Linked DNA regions of Homo sapiens: region 2 is linked to region 1. The links are contacts of gene promoters, found by promoter capture Hi-C in human tissues and cell types (Jung and others, 2019). All regions are on one chromosome and are shown on one strand. Each heading gives the region's core, a stretch centred on a gene start or on the middle of the fragment in contact. The rest is flanking DNA. Distances are from core to core; before and after follow the strand shown.

Evidence for each region. The method cuts DNA at HindIII sites, captures the fragments that hold promoters and counts their contacts. A contact is called where the count stands out against the background at its distance.
Region 2: a fragment that was not itself captured here is called in contact with the fragment with the promoter of RARA in region 1 in 1 of the 25 tissues and cell types used here (bladder).

The regions. Positions count from the first base shown.
Region 1 is chr17:40,304,608-40,311,712 of GRCh38, reverse strand. It overlaps RARA (retinoic acid receptor alpha), which reads right to left and starts at 2,533. Exons shown (of 9, transcript NM_000964.4): 1 at 2,427-2,533. CDC6 (cell division cycle 6) reads right to left here. Exons shown (of 12, transcript NM_001254.4): 12 at 7,056-7,105. RefSeq lists enhancers at 1,337-2,220, 2,532-2,661, 2,672-2,841, 2,221-3,106. The HindIII fragment of the contact is 8,948 bases long and covers 1-7,105 here.
Region 2 is chr17:41,980,760-41,987,864 of GRCh38, reverse strand. DNAJC7 (DnaJ heat shock protein family (Hsp40) member C7) reads left to right here. Exons shown (of 14, transcript NM_003315.4): 9 at 1-46; 10 at 4,229-4,302; 11 at 5,464-5,610; 12 at 5,858-6,010. Among named protein-coding and RNA genes, the nearest start is that of CNP, 18 kb to the right of the region's middle. The HindIII fragment of the contact is 3,275 bases long and covers 1,091-4,365 here.

The sequences.
Region 1 (7,105 bases), core at 1,284-3,783:
CCCTGCACCACAGGCAGGGAAACCCAGGAGTCCTGGCGCCCAGCCCAGAGACAGTGAAATATCTTGGAGGGGAGGAAACAGCCCAGATTGAGGCAGACATGTGGCACCCCCAGAAGCTCCCAGATGTGACCTACTGGCCAAAGGGGCTAGATGAGGCAAAGTGAAACATTTCTGAACAAGAAGAGAGAAGAAAGTGGGGCTATGGGAATGGGGTGGCGGGGGTCAGCCTGGCTCATCGCTGTCCTTTCCTCCTTGTCAGAGTCAGTGACACTGACATTAAGGTCATCGAATATCAACCAGGTCCTGAGGACCTTGGTGTGTTTCCTCCTCTCCTAGTCTCCAGACCCCAGCCTGTTCATTCCTGAGCTTCCTCTGGCACCCCTTCCTTGGGGCCAAGCCAAGTAAGAAATCAGCAGGCCCAAGGTGGTGCTTGGGAGGCCGGGGCAGTGCCAGGGGCAGTCCTCATACCATCCTCCCACTGGCTTCCCTCCTGCCTGCTCTTAGCCGCCACACATATCTCAGCTGTCGAATCCGATTAGGGCTCCTGCCCAGTGAGCCAGACAAGGAGGCCACTGGGCAGGGGAGAGAGAGACAAGGACGCCAAGCAGGGATGGCAGAAGGAAGGTGGAGACATGGCTCAGGGGAGCAAGTATGGGGCCCCAGAGGAAGAAATGCCTGGTGGAGAGATCTGTACTCTGTGACCACAGGTGCTCTGGTAACAGCTACAACCTGCATTAGGGGAATTCTGCAGTAACCGGGGCAATAGCCCTGCCTAGTTCCTCCATCCCCCAGATGGGCAAAGGATGGGGGAAGAAAACTAAAGGCGGAGAGATTGACCTAGATTTAGGAAGAGGATTCCATCCTAGATTCCCCCAGCCATTACTACCGTTTGCAGTGAGCTTTACGATACATTGTCTCTGTGGTTTTAGTGGCAATGTCCCTGCTTGCTACTGATAGCCATTTTTACAAATGGAGAAACTAAGGCTTAGCAAAGGGGAAGACCTATATAAACACATATAGTTAAGTAACCAGTCTAAGTCTCCAGTTCAGGCCTCTGATTCCTAGTTCACTGCTCACAGTCAGAATCTCTACTTTCCTTGTTGGATCAAGACCAGAACGAAGTCTGAAGCCAATTCATTATCCACCCTGTCCTCTAAAACCAACCTTTAGGGGACCCGGGGAGCCATGGAAGAATGCAGAGCACACCCCACACCTAGACAGAGCTACCAGATGGGGACATGCCACCCATTCCTATCATACATTGATTGCTAGAGGAGTTCCCTCAGTGTGACCAGTCTCTTCTATCACCCCCCTCCCCAGTCTACTACCCCCAGAAGCAAGACACACACTCACACATGGTAAGTCAGACAAGGTGTACACCCTTCCTGTAAACCCACCAAACCAGAATGACACGCCCTAGATCTTCAGAGAGCAGGGCCTGTCTGCCCACCACAGGAGAGAAAAATAAGCCACTGTAAACAGTAGGTGCCATCTAGCCCTCTCCCAGAGAGCCTGTAGCGGGGCAGAAGCTTGGGGACCTTGTAGCTCTAGAGAAACACCAGGAGCCTGAGATTCTGAAAGCCAAGAAGCTCAGGGAGCTGGCAAGGCTGGGTGACCTCCTCAATCTGGTCCACACCCCCTTCCCTAGCCATCTGGACTGAGCCTGTTCTGGCCTGGGCCACACTCTGGTATCCCTCCCCTTCAATGCATGCAGCCACCTCTATCCAAAGCTTCTAGATCTTACAACCACATTGTCCCTACACACACACACACACAGGTGGGGTCGGGGGGCTTCTGCAGCAGGTGTTGAAATGTTGACATGGATGGGGGCTCTAAGCTGAAAGAACTTTCCTAGAGGAAAAGCTCACCAAAATGCTCACAACCTCCACTACCCTCTAGCAAAGCCTTTAGCCACCCAAGTGTGAGATGAACCTGGAAGGGGACATTAGTTCCCCTACAAGGTGTGTAGGGAGTAGGGGCAAAGTCCTGAGCTCTTTGGGTGAGGAAGCAAGAAAGAAATCCCTTGGGAAAGCTCAGGTCCCTCTCTGGCTCTCTCCTCTCTCTGTTACCTCAGCACTTGCCAATTCTCCAGTCTAGGTGAGGTGGGGGAAGGGGTATTAGGCAATACCGCAAAGGAGGGTGCAAGGGCGTGGGGCCTGGGCAGACCTTCCCCCTACTCCCCACTCTTATCTAGAGAACGGGAACTGCCTCAGGAGAAATGCAGGAAGGGTGCTGGAGGGTGCAGAGGGCTCTGAGCTTTCAGACACCCCACTGTTCCCAGGCTCCCACCTCCCAGGACTACAGTGAGCGACGGGAGAGGAGGGATGGGGAAAGCCAGAACTGGCGAGAAGGAAATGGCTAGATCAGAAGCAGAGGCCGGGGTCAAAGGCGGCCAAAGAATTGGGAAGGGGTGTGCATGGTCCTACCTGCTCAGGTGTGTGCTGGCAGGGGGCCGATGGGGTTCCCAGGAGAACCGGGGAAGCCCTCTCAGCTCGATTCAGGATTCCCCCCTGCTTCTGGGTTAGGCTGCTGCAAGAGGCACGGGTTCCCGTTGGGTCCTAAAGCCCACTCGCCAACTAGAAGGCTCTCCCCGCCCTCTTCCACCAGCCAGCCCCGACTGGGTCAGCGGGCGCAGAGCGAAGGACTGATGGGGGAGAAGTAACCCACTGGAAGAAAGATGGGCGTCTGGTCATCGGCTGGGGACAGGAACAGTTCCCTGTCTCAAATACACAGCATATGGATAACTCGAGGATAGGATGACCTGAAACAGGAGAAAATAGACATTTCTTCCTGCCTGCCCTGAGCAGATGGATTTAGGTTTTGGTGCTGGAGGTGGGGTTAAGATCTCTTTCCCTGCCACTCCTGCTAAGGCATTCAGCTAGAGATTTTGGAAAGGGAGCATTCATTTTGGTTGGGCGCTCACTTCTGTCCTCTTCCTCATGGACTGCAGGAGTCCCTTCATCCCTCCCAATTATTCCCAAGGACCTAGGAGGCCATAGAGGGTGAAAAAAGATTTTCAGCATGTAAAAAGTGCAGGCTCACTTAGATGGCAGCTGGAAACAGGGGAAACATGTAGGACCAATGTATGTGTATCTGGGAATGTGTGGGGTCTGCAAATACACATATATAGGCAAGAGTATAAACAGGTGGGGTTAGGGAAGGAGAAAAAAACAAAAAAGAACTTTGGGTTACACCTATTACTGGAAATGGTAATTGTCAGTGGAAGAACAGGACGTAGAACCTAGAGGTCAACTAGTGCCCCTACCCAGCCCTCAGTAATGTCCCGAATCTTTATGACCAGAATAAACAAGTTAAAGAGAGAATATTTTCCTAGATACCATTTAGGATAAATATAGGGGCAGAGGGACCTCAATACAACAGATCAACTTCAAGGTCACTGATTCAGTTTAGTATAGCCAGTCTTCTCAGTAGCTCAAAAGGGAGAATTCAGGTTTGGTGGGCTAGATGGGCAAGAGAAAGCTGGATAAGAATTCTGAAGTTGTGGATTGAGAACATTTTGCAAGGAGAGTTGCACATATCTCTAGCAGCAGAGCAGGGAAAACGTCATGAGGGGAAGGGCCAGAGGAAGTCAGCGACAGACTTGAGGGGAGAGGGCATGGCCTCTCCCTAGAAGGGGAGAAGACACCAGCAATGCCTCCACCTCTGTCTTGCAGGAAGAACTGAGTAAAGGAGCTGGACTAAGGATGGAAGGCCCCAGGGTGGAGTCCATGGGGTGAGTTTAGGTCAAACCTTTCACCCTAATGTGCCTCAGTTCTCTCCCAGCTGTTAAACAGGGCTCTTCGTTCTTCCCAGGCAGTTAATGAGTGTTTACAAAAGGGTTTGGAGATCCTCAGATCTCAGCTGGGCCACCACTACAGTTATAAAGTTCAATAAGAGCTGAGTGTTATTTGGGGAGGAGAGGAGTAGGGGAAGGAAACAGATACTCTCTTATAAACTAAGGATAAAACTAAGCTCAGAGAGAAGCACAAGCCTAGCTGCCACAGGATATCCTTGTGCCCATGGATGGAGGTCACCCCACCCCCCCATCAACCACCACCAAAGGCTGGCCTCCAGCTAGCTGTAGGCAGAACCCAGACTAGCAGCTGGTCTTCATTAACTCCAGCTTTTTCACCCCCCACTGTGAACCCACAGCTTCTACAGGCCTAGGCTAGAGGGGGCTGCCCTAGCCCGACCTTGCAGCTGACACTGGGGTGGGGGGCACCGCACCAAAGGCCAAGTTACCAGCTGAAAAGAAAGTTGAAGCAAGAGTCCTTTTTCCCATTGGGAGCAAGAAGAAAGCAGTGTGGGGGTGAGAGGGTGGAGGTGGGGGAATTTAGGGCAAACAGCAGGCAGTGAAGTCAGCTGGATTGAGGCCCAGAAACCCCCACACCCTGGGGCCAAGTCTTACTCTAGCTTTGCTTTCAGCTTAAGTCTTGGCGAGGCCCCAAACTAGGGAAGGCCCTGGTTGCCCCTTTCCGCCTCCCTACCCCCACCCTTATTAAATACACATTTTATCTCTCAGCATCTTCATTATCTTAACTGAAGGAGACAAGCAGTGGATGGCGGCAGCAGAGAGCGTCAGGAGCGGGGGGCGGTGCGGGGAGCAGGCGCACCCTTGTTATAAAGTGCTGATCTAGCTCTTTCAGGCAGTGTGGGAAACAGAGGAGGGATCAAAGGGAGTGAGGCTGATTCAGAACTCAATTAGAGCTTTTTAAAAAACGAAGCTGGCTCTCTCCTTTCACCAGTCTTCAGCCTTTACCCAAGCCCCTTGCACCCAATTAACTTCCACTACCAGTGCCTTGGGGCTGGGGTTGAAAATCAAGGGGAGGCCAGAGGGCACACCTTCTCCCCTTACGGAACACACCTCTTCTAAGAGGAAGACCTGCACTGTTTGTAGCTTAAGAGAAGGTATCTTAGAAAGTACCTTATCTTTTCAGGAAGAACCTGAGATCACAACTTGCCCCAAGTTAAAAAGAGGGACATCAAAGGTGGGCTCCTCCCTAAACCCTTGCCTACAGACCCAGCTTCTGGCCAATCTAGCCACACTGAGTGACATCCAGACAGGCAGCCCTCTTCACAGCCTGTAGATAAGACTCTTCCCCTCATAGCCAAAGCGTCCCACCAGCAACATGGAAGTTGCCTCAAGCAAAATGCCACTACATCAGAGGGAGTGATTGGAATGCATCTGTGAGGCTAATAAATGCTCCAAAACTGTGCCAAGACACATTTTGTAAGACAGAGCACCCTTCTTATGCAGGGGCCTGCTCCACCTCTGTGCAAAAGTACCACCAACGTTTACCTTCAGCTTAGAACTGTTCTCACCACTGAGGGAAAGGCAGTATCTTATTTGGTTCACTTATCTGTTAAACAACTATTGAGTACCTACCAGGTATTAGGCACTATACTAATTGCTAGGCACAGATACAAATGTAAATAAAATTTCAATCTTGGATCTCTTTTGTCCTCCCTCAGCAGTCAAGGTAACACGTCTCAAGATATTTAAAAAATATATAACCGGCCAGGCATGGTGGCTCAAGCCTCTAATCCCAGCACTTTGGGAGGCCGAGGCGGGCGGATCACGAGGTCAAGAGATCGAGATCATCCTGGCTAACACAGTGAAACCCCATCTTTACTAAAAATACAAAAAAATTAGCCGGGCATGGTGGCGGGTGCCTGTAATCCCAGCTACTCAGGATGAGGCAGGAGAATGGTGTGAACCCGGGAGGCGGAGCTTGCAGTGAACAGAGATCGCGCCACTGCTCCAGCCTGGGTGACAGAGCAAGACACCATCTAAAAAAAAAATATATATATATATATATATAAATAATATGTATATAATATATAATATGTATATTATATATAATATACATTATATATATAAAATATATATAATATGTATATAATATATATATAAAACCTAAATCACATCTTATTCCCAACTTCTCATTCTTATTGGTGTATCTGCTTTCTGTCTTTTATAGAGACAGGGTCTCGCTCTGTCACCCAGGATGTAATGCAGTGGTGTGATCATAGCCCATGCCGAGTTGAACTCCTGGGCTCAAAGCATCCTCCCATCTCAGCTTCCCAAGTAGCTAGGACTACAGGTGCATGCCACCATGCCCAGCTGATTTTTAAGATTTTTTTGGTAGAGAAGGGTAAGGGGGTCTCACTATATTGCCCAAGCTGGTCTCAAGCTCCTGACTTCAAGTAATCCTCCCGCTGCTGCCTCCTCCCAAAGTGTTGGCATTACAGGCATGAGCCACCACACCTGGCTTGATGTATATTCAAAGGGACACTTAGTAAAGGTAGGGAGCAATGCAAAAGAGGGGGCGCAGAGAGAATAAGGCTCTGCCAACTTTTTGATCTCTGGGTAGCTTAGACCTCACACATTTTTTTTTTTTTTTTGAGACAGAGTCTCACTCTGTCACCCAGGCTGGAGTACAGTGGCATGATCTCATCTCACTGCAACCTCCACCTCCCAGGCTCAAGCAATTCTCCTGTCTCAGCCTCCCAAGTAGCTGTGATTATAGGTGTGTACCATGGCACCCAGTGAATTTTTGTACTTTTAGTAGAGACAGGGTTTCGCCATGTTGGCCAGACTGGTCTTGCACTCCTGACCCTTAAGTGATCAGCCCGCCTTGGCCCCACAAAGTGCTGGGATTACAGGCATGAGCCATCACACCCAGCATTTTTTTTTTTCCTTTTTGAGACAGTCTCATTCTGCTGCCCAAGCTGGAGTGCAATGGCACGATCTCGGCTCACTGCAACCTCTGCCTCCCAGGTTGAAGCGATTCTCCTGCCTCAGCCTCCCAGTAGCTGGAATTACAGGAACACACCACAATGCCTGGCTAATTTATTTTAGTAGAGACAGGGTTTCGCCATGTTGGCCAGACTGGTCTCAAACTCCTGACCTCAGGTGATCCGCCCGCCTCGGCCTCCCAAAGTGCTGGATTACAGGCGTGAGCCACCACCCCCAGCCTGGACCTCACACATTCTTGCAGAGTTAGCTAGCCACAGGCAAGTCTCCATTGAGCCAGAAACATCTGTGGCAGCTCTGGGGTTGAAACACACAATTTATTTTGTCTATGCTCTTTCCATGGCAACA
Region 2 (7,105 bases), core at 1,479-3,978, 1.7 Mb before region 1:
AGCTTGATGACACTTACATAAAAGCCTACTTGAGAAGAGCTCAGTGGTAAGTGCCTCTGATGGGTAGGGGGAAGAGGGAGTTGCCGCTGGCCTCAGGGGAATTGCCTTGTGGATGACGAAGCAGACCCAGAGATGTTGTGAGGTCATTTGGTCCTTCCCCCTGCCTCTAGGTGGGATTGTTCCAGCCCTAGACTATCTTTATAGACCTCCAGCGGAGGAGATTGCACAAGCTCCCTCAGTCTCCCATGCCTGTGTCTAACGCCCCTCACGGTCAGTAAGTTTCCTCTGATGCCTGACCCAAATTCCTTTTGTTAAAAAGTTTAAATCCATTTCCTTTGGAGATTTTATTTTGTGTTGTACACTTATGCTCTACCCTGGCACAGTGCTTGACACATAGGTGCTCACTGAATAAATGTTTTGTTGAATGAATGTATGGTGCTTGGAAGAGAAAACAACTCTTGGAGACAGTTGAGAGTTGTACTTCATCCTGTTTGTTCTGGGCGAGGGAAGACAATCTTAGAGTTGGAAGAGATGTAATCCGGCTCAGCCTCCCAGGATAAAGGAACTTCCTTTTGAAACACCCTGGATGGCTACTCTCTGCTTGAGTGTTTTGAGTGGAGGGCACTCTGTGTCTGACAGGGTGATTATGAGCCAGGATGTGCCTACCTCTAATGCTCACATTTGCCCCAGAGTCAGGGTGCTCCCTGGCATGGTTGCTCCTCTTACTCTTAGACCCACCAGCTGGTTTTCTCCAGATAGGAACAGGGCTAGGAGAAATCTTTCTCAGAAATCCATCTCTTCTGATTTCAGATTATTCTCTAGGCGGAGAAAAACTTCCCGTCTTTAAAGTTCTTAGAGAAGATGTATTTATTGTATACTAATCCTCCAGCACCTGCTCCACTCCTTATTATAAAATGTCATATCCAAAGAACAGATGCTGTCACTGATGCCTGATGAGCCAGTAGTTTAAGCTTCCTTGTCTCATCAGTGGTACAGAATATCTCATGGACTACCTCCCACTTAGTTTTCTCAAAATTATCTCACTTAAAATAGGAAAACTGCTGCTGTGTGTGATGCTTTTTTTAAAAGTGAATTTCTAAGTTGATGACTAAGTCTGTCCAACAGAAACATACAGGGAATTATAACTTCTGTGAGACTGACTGTCAGTCATTCCATCTTTGCAAACCACTGGCACACAGAAGCAGAAGCTTTGGAAGACAAAAAAAGCACCCTTTGATTCAGCCAAAGACTGACTTTAACAGACGCAAAATGCTATATACATGAAGGTGTTTGCTGCAATTTTATCTATAATAGCAAAAAAAAAAAAAAAAAAAGGCGGGGGGAGAATCACCTACATGTCCAGTGGGAAGGGGGTGGCTAGATACTTGATACTGTATGAACTTAATGGAATGCTCTGTATATGGAATGCCAGGGGATGGGAAGAGAAGAGAAAAATCGCTTTGTTTTATTTTTTGGGATGGAGTCTCGCTATGTCGCTCGGGATGGAGTCTCGCTATGTCGCTCAGGCTGGAGTGCAGTAGCACCGTACTGGCTCACTGCAACCTCCACCTCCTGAGTTCAAGCGAATTTCCTGCTTCAGCCTCCGAAGTAGCTGAGATTACCGGCGCATGTCACCACACCCAGCAAATTTTTGTATTTTTATTGGAGATGGGGTTTCATCATGTTGGCCAGGCTGTTCTCAAACTCCTGATGACAAGTGATCTGCCTGTCTTGGCCTCCCAAAGTTCTGGAATTACCAGCAGGTGTGAGCCACCGCGCCCGGCCTTTTTTTTTTTTTTTTTTTTTTTTTTTTTTTTAAGCAAGCCCCCAACACCATAGAAAATTCTTGATTTGCTCGGAGGATAATTGGATGAAGGATTATTTTCTTCTTTGTTTATGTGCAAGAAATGAAAATAAGGAATTGCTTTGATCAGACAACTTCTTATCTTTGTGGTAGAAACAGAACTGCCCTTCTTGGAGTGGCTCTGCCTCTGAGATCACTACAGGGGAGACAGCATGCCCTGTTCAGCTGGCTGAATATTTGGCAACAATCTCCTGAAGCAGCTGGAATTGACAAGAAGTACTGGAGATTAGCTCGGGCCAAACCCTTACATCTGGCCTGACTACTGCTGCAGTCTGCCTCAACTTACCCCTAAAGCTGGGGAGATGCCACCCACCCACATCTTTGCTACACATGCCATCATGAGCTAGAGTTCACCCTTTCTCCTTAAAGCCCTATTTACTTTTCTACTTCAACTTTAAAACAAAATTAAAATGTGAGGATATCCCTGAATTTTAAAAAGCATGAAGTAAAAATGCAAATTAGTATAGTTTGTTTAATACATTACATATAGACCTAAAGAAAGTTCATCAGGGTTAATCATTTGTCACATCATTCTATACCCAGGGCTATCAGCTATCAATTTTCCTTTTTTTTTTTTTTTTAATTCAGGATCCAGCTCTGTCACCCAGGCTGGAGTGCAGTATCAAAGTATCATTTCTCTTACTTCAAATTATTACATTTTATTCTGTACATTGATTCTGAACTCCTAATATAATATTTATGTCCTGTATTTGCAGGCCATTGGTTTTTTTAAAGTCATAAATCAAAATGATGCCAGAAAATCAAAGATGCCCAAGATGTTGGGCTTCTCTTTTGCCAGCCACATTGGTAGCACTCTCCTGCCCTGGCCTCCAAGCTGGTGGGGATCTGTGATGTTTGTGAAAATGGGCTTATGCCAGGCGCAGTGGCTCACGCCTATAATCCCAGCACTTTGGGAGGCCGAGGCGGGCAGATCGGTTCAGGTCAGGAGATCGAGACCAGCCTGGCCAACATGGTGAAACCCCATCTCTACTAAAAATACAAAAAATTAGCCAGGTGTGGTGGCACATGCCTGTAATCCCAGCTACTCAGGAGGCTGAGGCAGGAGAATCACTTGAAACCTGGGAGGCGGAGGTTGCAGTGAGCAGAGATCGTGCCATTACACTCCAGCCTGGGCTACAGAGTGAGACTCTGTGTCAAAAAAAAAAAAGAAAGAAAATGGGCTTGTGTGGTAGCAGGTAAGAAATTGAATCTCTGTTGTACAGCAGCTAGCTGTACTGCATGATCACTTCCCATTCCCCAGCTGACAGTGGCTGTCTCTGGAACTCCTACCACAGTCTTCAATTGGTAGGCCAGCCCTGGTGCCAGTGATTTTATCTGGGCATGGAAAATGCCACTTGCTTCTGTGGAAGAGACACTTAAAAGATCTGGCAGTCGGCCGGGTGCGGTGGCTCACGCCTATAATCCCAACACTCTGGGAGGTCAAGGCAGGCGGATCACGAGGTCAGGAGATGGAGACCATCCTGGCTAACACGGTGAAACCCTGTCTCTACTAAAAAAAAAAATAAAAAATTAGCTGGGCGAGGTGGCGGGCGCCTGTAGTCCCAGCTACTCTGGAGGCTGAGGCAGGAGAATGGCGTGAACCCAGGAGGCGGAGCTTGCAGTGATCCGAGATCACACCACTGCACTGCAGTCTGGGCAACAGAGCGAGACTCCATCTCAAAAAAAAAAAAAAAAAAAAAAGATCTCGCAATCATCCTGTCAAGCTTGATTCCTCCGATCTTGGGCCAAGGGCCCCTCCTTTCTTTTGTGCTACTGAAATAGAAGCAAACCTGTGTTTAGAGTTCCCTTTTCTGTCTCATTTACCTGCATCTCTCATTGATTGGTCTTAGTGGAGGGATTTGCCAGCAGCTGCCACGTTGAACTTGATCCTTTTAGTGGCTCACTAATCCCACCTCTATTCTGGATTGTAGCTAGTCCTGCATGTTTATGGCACTATAGGTTTCAAAGCTCTTTCATACCCATTTATTCACTTGATAATTTTTCTCTTGTGTGTTTCAACCCAAAGTAATCAAGTAGATCCCTTCACATTGTCTTTTCTAAGGCAGTCCAGTACCTCTTAGGTGGCTGTGTGTCAGAAGGAACTTTTTCCTCTTGATTACTTTCTGCTCAAAGCTGAACATCACTTTGCTGGTTGGATGCAAGTGCCATGCGACCTCTCTTTTTATTTCCTTGAGGACTTGTTAGCTAATTTTCTCTCACTGCTAGATTAAGGGCTCCTGTTTCTGAAGCATCTTACCAGAAGTGTGTGTCTCTTGCTTGAGCCATGCCTCTTGCCCTAGAGTGATCCTGAGAACCACTGCTATTTATGTCTTAGTGCTGTATTGCCTTGTATTTCCTTCTCAGTTACATGGACACAGAACAGTATGAAGAAGCAGTACGAGACTATGAAAAAGTATACCAGACAGAGAAAACAAAAGGTAAGTTTAAAAGCATTTGTTTTTTAGGGAACTGTGTGGACTTCGTAGGCCATAAATCTGTACACAAGGTAGTTTGATTCAGGGATCAGGGATCTACCTAGAACTTATTTGATCACCAGCCAGAAAGAAGTGAACAAAGGCTGGGCGTGGTGGCTCACGCCTGTAATCCCCAGCACTTTGGGAGGCTGAGGCAGGCAGATCACCTGAGATCAGGAGTTGGAGACCAGACTGGCCAACATGGTGAAACCCCATCTCTACTGAAAATACAAAAAATTGTGGGTATGGTGGTATACGCCTGTAATCCCAGCCACTCAGGAGGCTGGGGCACGAGAATTCCTTGAACCCAGGAGGCGGAGGTTGCAGTGAGCTAAGATTGCGCGACTATACTCCAGCCTGGGTGACGGAGCGAGACTTCATCTCAAAAACAAAAACAAAAAAAAGAAAAAAAAAGTGAACAGATATCTTGGGTTGGGGCATGAGGCACCTATTTTCTGGTTCCAGATCCTCCCTGTCGTTTTCATTTCATTTTTTGTGTGGTGAGGCTAAAGTGAGGAACCTAAGTCTGGGTAGATTTTCTTTTTTCTTTTTCTTTTTTTTTTTTTTAAGATGGAGTCCTGCTCTGTCACCCAGGCTGGAGTGCAATGGCATGATCATAGCTCACTACAACCTTTGCCTCCCAGGTTCAAACAATTATCCTGCCTCAGCCTCCCGAATAACTGGGATTACAGGCACATGGTACCACGCCTGGCTAATTTTTTGTATTTTTAGTAGGGATGGGGTTTCACCATGTTGGACAGGCTAGTCCCGAACTCCTGACCTCGGGTGATCCATTCTGTCAAGCTTGATTCCTCCCATCTTGGGCCAAGGGCCCCTCCTTTCTTTCGTGCTACCGAAATAGAAGCAAACCTGTGTTTAGAGTTCCCTTTTCTGTCTCATTTACCTGCATCTCTCATTGATGCAGGCCTCCCAAAGTGCTGCGATTACAGGCATGAGTCACCGTGCCTGGCCGAGTAGATTTTTTTTCTAATCTCCAGAAGAAAGCACCGTAAAAGTCCCTGGCATGGTTAACAAGGCCTCTAACTCCCAGGCAGCTGGGCTGAGACCTGGTGAGGAAAAAACCAGAGTCAGATTTGTCCACTGATGCCAGATGTCTTCCTGTAGAACACAAACAGCTCCTAAAAAATGCGCAGCTGGAACTGAAGAAGAGTAAGAGGAAAGATTACTACAAGATTCTAGGAGTGGACAAGAATGCCTCTGAGGACGAGATCAAGAAAGCTTATCGGAAACGGGCCTTGATGCACCATCCAGGTAGAGTAGGTGCGGGGAGTGGGCTCAGTGGGAAGAACCCGCAGGGCAGGCCAACTGCCACACTCAGTCCAGAGGGGACCCCTTGGAGAGGTCCTTCAGCTGAGAATAAGGTGTTGCAGACTTGTGGACCCTCCAAATTTTGGGAAGTGCCAAATTCCAAAATTAGACAGAAAGTAGTTTTTCTCTTAAACTTTGTTTTCTTGAAACTTTGATTTCCACTGAGTTGTTCTTTTACTCCCCACTTTAGATCGGCATAGTGGAGCCAGTGCTGAGGTTCAGAAGGAGGAGGAGAAGAAGTTCAAGGAAGTTGGAGAGGCCTTTACTATCCTCTCTGATCCCAAGAAAAAGACTCGCTATGACAGTGGACAGGACCTAGATGAGGAGGGCATGAATATGGGTGGTGAGTTGGCTGGGGCAGCCTGGGATGAATTTGACAGCTGTAGAATGTTAGAATTTTTTCCAAAGATGCTCCAGAGGGAGAGTCTATTTGGGCCAAATCTGATCCCTGGTCCAAACAGTAATAGACATGGAGTCAAACAAATGCAGTCAAATGTGGCAGGTTCACAGTGTGCAGTGAGCTCTGAGGAGGCGAGCACTAGCAAGGGAAGGCTTGGAAGTGCAGAAAAGCATGGCCCCATGGGTCATGCCTGTAATCCCAGCACTTTGGGAGGCCAAGGCAAGCAGATCACTTGAGGTCAGGAGTTTGAGACCAGCCTGGCCAACATGGTGAAACCCTGTCTCTACTAAAAATACAAAAATTAGGCTGGGCGCGGTGGCTCATGCCTGTAATCTCACCACTTTGTGAGGTCAAAGCAGGTTGATCACCAGGTCAGGAGTTTGAGACCAGCCTGGCCAACATGGTGAAACCTCGTCTCTACTAAAATACAGAAATTAGCCAGGTGTGGTGGTGGGCGCCTGTAATCCCAGCTACTCGGGAGGCCGAGGCATGAGAATCGCTTGCACCCAGGAGGCGGAGGTTGCAGTGAGCCGAGATTGTCCCACTGTACTCCATCCTGGGCGACAGAGCAAGACTTTGTCTCAATTAAAAAAAATAATAAGAAGAAAGAAAAAAGAAAAATTAGCCAGGTGTGGTGGTGCACACCTGTAATCCCAGCTACTTGAACCCGGGAGGTGGAGGTTGCAGTGAGCCAAGATGGCGCTACTGCACTCCAGCCTGGGCAACAGAGTGAGACTCCATCCCTCCCCACTAAAAAAGCAAAGCATGGCCTCTTTGGGGATCTGCAGGGGGCTTGGTCTAGGGAAGATAAAGGGATAGGGTGCTAGAGGCAGGTGGTGGTGGAAGGCCGGCAAGTAGCTGGATCAGAGCTCACAGGCCATAAGGGCTGTATGTGGTAAGGAATATGAGCATTTTCCTATTATCTGGAAGTTCTTTTTTACCCACTGCAAAGTGTATGCTGACATTTATGTATGTCATACATTCCTATAAACACTCACAGATTTTAATTTCCCAAAAAGATTTAGCATGATATAAAGC